Regions from separate parts of the Homo sapiens genome. Here region 2 is linked to region 1. The links are contacts of gene promoters, found by promoter capture Hi-C in blood cells and fetal thymus (Javierre and others, 2016). All regions are on one chromosome and are shown on one strand. The core of a region is centred on a gene start or on the middle of the fragment in contact, and the rest is flanking DNA. Distances in the headings are between cores, read along the strand shown.

Region 1 (4,037 bases), core at 1,538-4,037:
CAGAGTTTTAAAAAAGAAATCTTGAAGGGCTTTAAAATTAATGGCTTTACAAATTAAACAACTCCATGATAAGAAACAACTTAGACACCTTTAGGAAATGTAAATTTAAGTTTGTCTAACTAATAATTGCTTATAATGGAGCACAATTAAAAATCAATAATTAAAAAAATACATGGTTATAAAAGTTAGGCTCTCAGATCATACAGGTCAAAATCTTGAACTCAGAGCAATAATTTAAGGTGTCTCTGTCCGACATAAACTTTTTTCTTCTTTTGCCATGCAGAGGCAAAAAAGAAAAAGCCAGGAAAAAAAGCTAAAATCCTTCCTCATCCACATTTGTTAATCAAGCAAACCACATCACCACCACCCGCCCCCCTCCAACCCACACAAAAAATCTAGTTTAAGGCTAGTTGGAGATTTTTTTTTCTTATACAATTCAGCCAGTTCTAGCTAAAGTGTAAGCAATTGAAAATTTAATCCTAAACTCATGTGAAACAGAAAAAAAAAAGATGCTGAAACTGTAGAGGTTTCATTTGTTTATTTGTTTATAAGTTACACTGCCATTAGAAACTGCTTTACCCAAAATATTTCCCCCAGCCTTCATTATATTACCTATAGGGGCAAATAAAGTTTATCCATGTTAACGATTCCAATTTGTCAGAAATACAATTGGATCCAGTTGACTTTAATCAACTAGTGAGTTTGTATTACTATCTCATCACTAAAATTCTAAAATGAAAGCTGTAAGATTTTTATTTGTTTGTGGATATGTGTTTAGGTGTGTTTTTGCATATGTACATGTATTATGGTCTATATTGTGTCTACATGACAAAATCCACCTTAGTTGGCCAGAAACGCCTTAATAAACTCTATTTGCATTTCCTTAGAGAAATGAGCATAAGAACATGGCTTTTACCCTAGTAGCATCGGGAGGGAATTCAGGGTCTTTCTAACAGTGAGGGGCAAACCCAATTCATTCCCTGACATCATTCACTGACATTCCCTCCAGGCTCTAACATATGTCTTTCTCACAAACACACCAAAACTGACACAAACTCCGGATATTCGATCCCAGGTGGATCTTCCACCAGGGCAGAATGACCACAAGAAAGTCAGGGAGTGATTCCCCAGCCTCGAGATCCCCAGTATTTGGGACATCTGCCTATGGTCCCTGCAGACATTTCACCAGGGGATCCAGGGGAACTTCTCCTGCAGGAGGGGACAGGATAACCCAGGATCTGCCTTTGTTTCCATCTCAGAGGGACTGAGGGTCACGGGGCCTCCCCTGCTCTAATACAGGAACCAGGTATCCCTTGCAGCCTGCAGGTAGGAGCTGCCCCAGCTCCTGGGCCCTGTGGAGAGGCCTGGGGCAGGTGACAGACAGGGACACAGATGACCTGGAGGCGGAACTCCCAGTGTTGTGATGGAGGAACACAGAACACACCGAGGACCACCTCCCAGGCCAGTGCCCTCTCTCTAAACCCCCAGAGACACCTCCCTGGGCCCTTCTTTTGAAACCTTGGGGACGGATGGCTCTTTCTGAGGCAGCCCATCCGCCTGCAGGACAGTTCTCCCAAATCAGGACCAGGAGTGCTCTGGACAACTCTCGTCCTCTCCCTGAGCTCATCCTGCACTGCATGGAGTTGGACATCCTGGGGACCCACAGTGAACAGGACCAAGGATGACCTGACCCTGCAGTCTGGAGGTCAGAGCCCACCTCTGCCCAGGGGCCAGGGCCAACTCATACCACGTGGACCCTGGTCAGCATCCCTGGGGAAGCCCCTGACTTTTACCACAGGGTTCCTCTTGCTCTCCAGGGGCAACATTGCACGCAGACAACACAGGAAATGGATTCCCCTGGACAGGAATCTGGCTTTGCTAAGGAGGTGGAGGTGAAGCCTGGTTTCCATACTTTGCTCCAGCAGGCCCTTCCAGTCCCTCCCATGTGCCTGCTCTGTCTCTCCTGATCCTTCCTGGAGCCTCTGAGGATCCTGCTCTGCCAGGATTCTCTGCTCAGTTCTCCACTTTCTCCTGGTATCATGCATGGGGAAGGTACAGTGACAACAGGACAATCACCTTCACAGAGGACAGAGGCCACCCGGGATGGTAAGGGAGAACATGCACAGGCCCTAAGCCACAGCTCAGCCAACAGAAACGGAGAGGGAGGATCTCCCTGAATCCCTCCTCAAGGACAGCAGAACCCAGAGCCACCCACCTCCCTCCACCACAGTCCTCTCTTCCCAGGACATGCAGGACACCTCCCTCCACATCCAGGAGCTGGGGATCCTCCTGAGACCCCCAGGCCTGGATCTCTGTCCCTGGGTCAGAGGCAAGGCTGGTGACACTGGAGAGAGAGGACTGGTCCCCCCCGTAGTCGCCCCCCATTTTCTATCCCACAGAGCCACCTCTGTCACCTTCCTGCTGGGTATCATCTCACACTCCCTGAGTATTGGGGAGCATGAGGAGACCTGGGGGCCCAGCTGGGTCTCTGTGTCACAAAAGGAAACAGTTCCCCAAGTTTGGGAGACCCCAGAGTACCTCTGTTTGTGGTGACATTCCCAAAGGGTCAGTGCAGGGGTGACAAGTCACCCTCTCTGGGGACAGGGGACTCCACCAACCCTGCTTCTCAAAGTGTGGTTAGGAAACTGTAATGTACACAGAAGAGAAAGGGGAAGGAGGGACAAAAAAGGCAGAAATGAGAGGGGAGGGGCAGAGGGGTGACCTGGGAAGAGCCCCGCCTCTGCCCCTGGCCCTGGGAAGTGCTTCTGCCCGGGAGGAGGCTCAGCACAGAAGGAGGAAGGTCAGCAGCCCCGACAGCCGACAGTCACAGCAGCTCTGACAAGAGCGTTCCTGGAGCCCAGCTCCTCTCCACAGAGGACAAGCAGGCAGCAGAGACCATGGGCCCCCCCTCAGCCGCTCCCCGTGGAGGGCACAGGCCCTGGCAGGGGCTCCTGATCACAGGTGAGGGGAGGACTCTCTGGGAGTGGTGGGAAGAGGGAGCACAGAGACTGACTGGGGTCTCTTGGGTAGGAGGGGATAGAGGGCTTCTGGCTGGGGTCTCCTGGGGCTCTGAGAGGGGACTGAGGGCCTCTGTTGGAGGCTGGATAAGGGAGAGAACATCAGAGAGGGGCAGGGGTCACAACAGGAAAATCTCAGTGAACTGGAATTGGTAAAAGGCAGGAAAATCTCAAGTGTTCTCTCGTCCTGGTTAATCATCACTGGCCACTACATTTTGAAAAATGATAATAACTATACCAGATGACACTTCAAATAAAAACATAACCAGGGCATAAAACACTGCTCTTAGCCAACAACCTCAGACACTGGGAAATAAACCTCAGGACTTGGAGGCCCTGAGAATGCTCATGAACTCATCTACAGGAGTCTGCAGCCTGTGCCAGGCACTGGGGTGCAACCAAGATCACACAAGTCCCCGCCCTCACAGAGCTCACGCTCTCATGGGGAGGAAGACAAACACCTAAAGAGATCTAGAATGTGAGGTCAGGTGCTGACAAGAGCCCTGGAGGGAACAGAGCTGGGAAAGGTCAGAAAGGGAAGACCCAGGGTCTCTAGAGGAGGTGTCAGGGGAGGGGTCTCCCAAAAACACCCTGATGTGAGCAGGATCTGAGGGCAGTGGGGAGGGAGCCGTGCAGACCCCTGGGGAAGAAGATTCCACCAGGGAAATGCCAAGGTCCAAGCTGTTGAAGGAATGGGGGTCATGCTGCTGACCCAGGGACACACACACACACACACACACACACACACACACACACACACACACACACACACACACACACTCCAAGGCTGAGGGATGAGGAGACCTGCTGAGGACCCAGGGCCTTATCTTTCCATCCCACTCCATAGGTCCCAGTATTGACTGATGCTGTCTTCACCTCCTAGCCTCACTTTTAACCTTCTGGCACCCGCCCACCACTGTCCAGTTCACTATTGAAGCCCTGCCGTCCAGTGCTGCAGAGGGAAAGGATGTTCTTCTACTGGCCTGCAATATTTCAGAAACTATTCAAGCCTATTATTGG
Region 2 (4,569 bases), core at 1-2,500, 450 kb after region 1:
CAGCACACAGTCCACATCCCTTCTTCTGCAACTGGCTTTTGTCCTTCAGCTTTTAAGATTCATTCATATCCATACAGCTGGCTCTGGATCACTAATTTTAATGCCTGGGAGGTGTTTCAGAGAAGGCTTTGGCACACCTCTCCATCCATTTAATTTCCCATCTGATCAGATCTCTAGGTTGTTTCTAATCTTTTCCTCTTAGAATCAGTTCTGCATCTATCTGGGTTGAGAATTTCCTCATTTCAAACGCCTGAGTCATGGGGTTCTGTTTTCTTCTGCCTCTAGCATTTGGCTTTGATCTGCCCGCTTCTGCCCTCCACACATTCTATTCTGGCTCTTTCCCCTCCCATCTAGGCCCCACCCATTCTCCTCTCAGAGCCCCAGGCCTCCAGGTTCCGCTCCCCTCCACCCTCCCCTCTGCAGCCAGAGGATCTTGAAACAGCGGGCATCTGAGATTATTTGTCTGAGCTGGTTTCCTCTCCTAGCCCAAAGTGGGGCGAGTGCAGGGACAGGGCTTGTCTGCCTTCCCTAGGCCTGTGTGCCCGTGCCTCACACTGCCATGAGATGAGGAAGACACAGTCATTAAACGGGATGAAAGTGTACCTGTCTCAACAACTGGCTTCCTGCTCACAGGTCGAGAGCGATCTTGGCTGTTGAAAATATGTGGATCGGCAGGTTAGTGGAGACAGGGGGAGTAGAAGAGGGGTGGTGGGTAAGTGGTGGGATAGGCAGGAACTGGAGCTTAACAGTTTAGCAGGAACATGTTTGGGGGATGGGATGGAGAGGAGTGTGGAGGCCCAAGCTTGAGGTCTGGGGGTTGGAAACCCAGGGGAACCGGAGTTACTGGAATTCAACTCATTGCCCTGCTAACACCACTGCCTCTTTCTTTTCCTTCCTTTTTTGTTTTTTGAGACAGAGTCTTGCTCTGTCGCCCAGGCTGGAGTGCAATGGTGCGATCTTGGCTCACTGCAACCTCCGCCTCCTGGGTTCAAGTGATTCTCCTGCTTCAGCCTCCTGAGTAGCTAGGATTACAGGTGCGCACCACCACACCCAGCTAACTTTTGTATTTTTAGTAGAGACGGGGTTTCGTCATGTTGGTCAAGCTTGTCTCGAACTCCTGACCTCAGGTGATCCATTTGCCTCGGCCTCCCAAAGTGCTGGGATTACAGGCGTGAGCCGCCGCTCCCGGCCTCAAAACAGACCAATTTAACAGCATTCCACCGATGTCCATGCTGAACCATGGGAATGGCGGCCTGTTCTTTCTCCTGGAGTCCATCCTCCTCTGCAGCCAGAATTCTTAGCCGGAGAGTGGTGCTGAGGGAGCACCCCACTGCGTCTTTTATGTGACTGGCCAAGTTGTCCAACCTCAGTTTTCCTCATCTGTAAATGAAGCTTATAACTGTACCTAGCATCCATTAATACTCTGAGGGAGATACTAACATATCATCTCCATCTTCAGATGAGGAAACTGAGGTTCAAGGACCCTAGGTCACCTGCCCAGAGTCACACAGCCCCTAAGTGTCTATGGCTCTGGGATGCTCCTTCTCTCCTTCTCCCACTGCTCTCTTCGTCTGGGGGCATTGTTTTGCTCCACTCCTACCCCCCAACACTCCCAGAACAGAGTGGACCCTCTGGGCTGTGATGATGAAGAAATGAATGAGTGCACTCTACTCTGATACCCACCTTTCCATATCTCGGTGGGACCCAAACCACCCCCACACTCTCACCTGCCTCCACCCTGTACCGCCCTGACTTTCTGCACTCGGCACACAGGCACCAGGGGGTGCCCCCAGCCTGCAAGTCACCCCATTGGGCTTTTGGAGAATGGGGCAGGGGGAGAGAAGGAGAATGGTCCAGAGACAGACTGAAAACCCTGGAGGTGAGGGGTGTGCAGAGAACCAGAGAGAGACGGACAGTAATCCTTTCTCTTCTTCTTCTTCTTCTTCTTCTTCTTCTTCTTCTTCTTCTTCTCCTCCTCCTCCTCCTCCTCCTCCTCCTCCTCCTGCTCCTCCTCCTCCTCCTCCTCCCTGGATTCCACTTTTACGCTGGCTCGGGATATGTGACCTTGGGCCTATAACTGAACTTCTCATCAGCAGATCGGGGATGACATGTGAGTGCAGCCCTCAGAGGTTTATGGGGATCATATGATGAATACCTGCGCAGCGTTTAGGCGAATACTTGCACGTAGCCAACGTGTGCCAGCTGGCGTTCACTGCCCTTCTGCTCTCCATGCTTTTTCTGTGCTAGGTGTGGCACCGAAATCTTACAACAGCCCGAAGTCGGCACCTTTATGATCTCCACTTTATTATGCTTTTCATAGGAATTCAGTTACATAAGTAATAGATGATTATGGGTTGATTACAAATTTCAGCCGGGTACGGTGGCTCAGGCCTTTCGGAGGCCAAGGTGGGAGGATCGCTGGAGCTCAGGAGTTCGAGACCAGCCTGGGCAACATAGCAAGGCCCCCATCTCTAGAAAAAATTTAAAAAATTTAAAAATTAGCTGGGTGTGGTGGCAGACGCCTGAAGTTCCACCTACTTGGGAGGCTGAGGAGGGAGGATCGCTCAAGTTCGAGGCTGCAGTGAGCCATGATCGCGCCATGGCCCTCCAGCCTGGGCAAAAGAGCAGGACCTTGTCTCCAAAAAAGGAAAGAGAAAAATAAAATTTCAAAGACTACAGAAAAATAACTCCCTTTCTCCCTTCAACCCACTATTCCCTGGCTGCTGTCTATTTCAGTCCCACCCCCAGCTGTCCATCGCCGGCCACTCCTGCCATTACTATTGTTCTAAAGCTGCCAGAGTCAGCCTGGCCTGGTTCTATTCTTTTCTATCTTTCTAGAAGGTAAGACCCACTCTGGGTGGGTCAGGAGGTTAGTGTGTTACTTTTTTTTTTTTTTTTTTTTGAGACGGAGTCTCGCTCTGTCACCCAGGTTGGAGTGCAGTGGTGCGATTTTGGTTCAATGCAACCTCTGCTTCCTGGGTTCAAGTGATTCTTCAGCCTCAGCCTCCGGAGTAGCTGGGATTACAGGCATGTGCCACTATGCCCAGCTAATTTGTGTATTTATAGTGGAGATGGCGTTTCACCATGTTGGCCAGGCTGGTCTCGAACTCCTGACCTCAAATGATCTGCCTGCCTCGGCCTCCCAAAGTGCTGGGATTACATGCGTGAGCCACTGCGCCCGGCCTCTATGCGTTACTTTGGAGAAGTCACGTTCCTCTTTACACACCCATGTGTCCAAATGTGAAGTCCATTCCATCTCCATTTAGTTCCAGTTTTTATTTCAACATGCTGCAGCTTCCAGAATAAGGAGTAGCTGGAGAAGATCCAGAGTGTGGCATGCAGAAAGCCCCTCCACCAGTGCCAGGCACTGAGGCCCCAGGGAACTCCTGACCTCCGCTCCTTTATGCAGAGTTGATGCCAGGCCTGCATCCAGGCCTGACTGGGTGATGCTGGGGAGGCAGTAGAGACAGAGACAGCCCTACCCCCATGGGGCCCACAGTCCAGTTGAGGAGGCAGGTTAGTCACCAGACCTTGACTGCCCAGAGTGGTCGGGGCTGGGATGGGGGAGGCCAGGGGGCCTGTGGGAGCCCAGAGTAAGTGCCTGCCCTGGCCGGAGAGTGGTGAGTATCAGGGAGGGCTTCCTGGAGGAGGGGATACATGGATCTGAAGAATGACTCGAGAAAGATCATGGGGAAGAGTGTTCCTGCAGGGGGAATAGCATGTTGGGTGGCTGAGAGGGTAGCAGGAGGGATTGGAGGAGACCAGGGTTTTTGATGATGATTTCAGCACAGAGTGCTGGGGCTGTGGGGGAGGTGGGGGAACTGATTTCTCACCTCAGGGAGGGGCAGGACTTTGGAGGAGAGAGGAGAGCAAACATTCCAGGTGGGGAAACACCTGTTACAAGCCATAAGAGGGAGTGTATGGCGCTGGAGGCCCAGCAAGGCCAGTGTGGTTTAGCACAGATCCTTGCTGTGGACACAGAGTTGGGAGTCCTTGGCAGACAGACAGCAGATTCTGCAGCTCTGTGAGTGACCAGGCTCACCTGGGAGAGAGGGTGAGAAGAGGACCTGGTTTCTAGCATGTGGAGGTGGGGTGGGGGAGAAGGCAGAGCAAGGGAGACTGAGGGTGGGGACCCAGGAGGTGGAACACCGCCACCACCAGGAAGCTGGAGGAGGGGCTCTCAGCCAACTCCCCACCAGAATTTGTATTGTATAATTCTAAAAACGATGTCTGGTTAACATTTATTTTTATGTTCAAATGTATCTTTTTAGAATATTGTGCCAGTCTTGAAGATCACTGGAGATACTTCTACCTTCACCTACAATTTTCTTTCTTTCTTTTTTTTTTTTTTTGAGACAAGGTCTCACTCTCTTGCCCAGGCTGGAGTGCAGTGGCACGATCTCAGCTCCCTGCAACCTCAACCTCCCAAGCTCCAGTGATCCTCTCACTTTAGCCTCCCAAGTAGCTGGGACTACAGGCGCATGCCACCAGACTGGGCTAATTTTTGTATTTTTTGTAGAGACGGGGTTTCACCATGTTGACCAGGCTGGTCTGGAACTCCTGGACACA

Evidence for each region. The method cuts DNA at HindIII sites, captures the fragments that hold promoters and counts their contacts. A CHiCAGO score of 5 or more calls a contact.
Region 2: a fragment that was not itself captured here is called in contact with the fragment with the promoter of CEACAM4 in region 1 in 1 of 17 cell types (total B cells); the score reaches 5.5 in total B cells.

The regions. Positions count from the first base shown.
Region 1 is chr19:41,625,824-41,629,860 of GRCh38, reverse strand. CEACAM4 (CEA cell adhesion molecule 4) reads left to right here and starts at 2,787. Exons shown (of 7, transcript NM_001817.4): 1 at 2,787-2,961; 2 at 3,901-4,037. The coding sequence starts at 2,898. The HindIII fragment of the contact is 7,709 bases long and covers 1-4,037 here.
Region 2 is chr19:41,172,065-41,176,633 of GRCh38, reverse strand. It overlaps LOC124904790, which reads left to right. Exons shown (of 3, transcript XM_047439802.1): 2 at 565-675. Among named protein-coding and RNA genes, the nearest start is that of CYP2S1, 19 kb to the left of the region's middle. RefSeq lists an enhancer at 375-1,052. The HindIII fragment of the contact is 289 bases long and covers 1,106-1,394 here.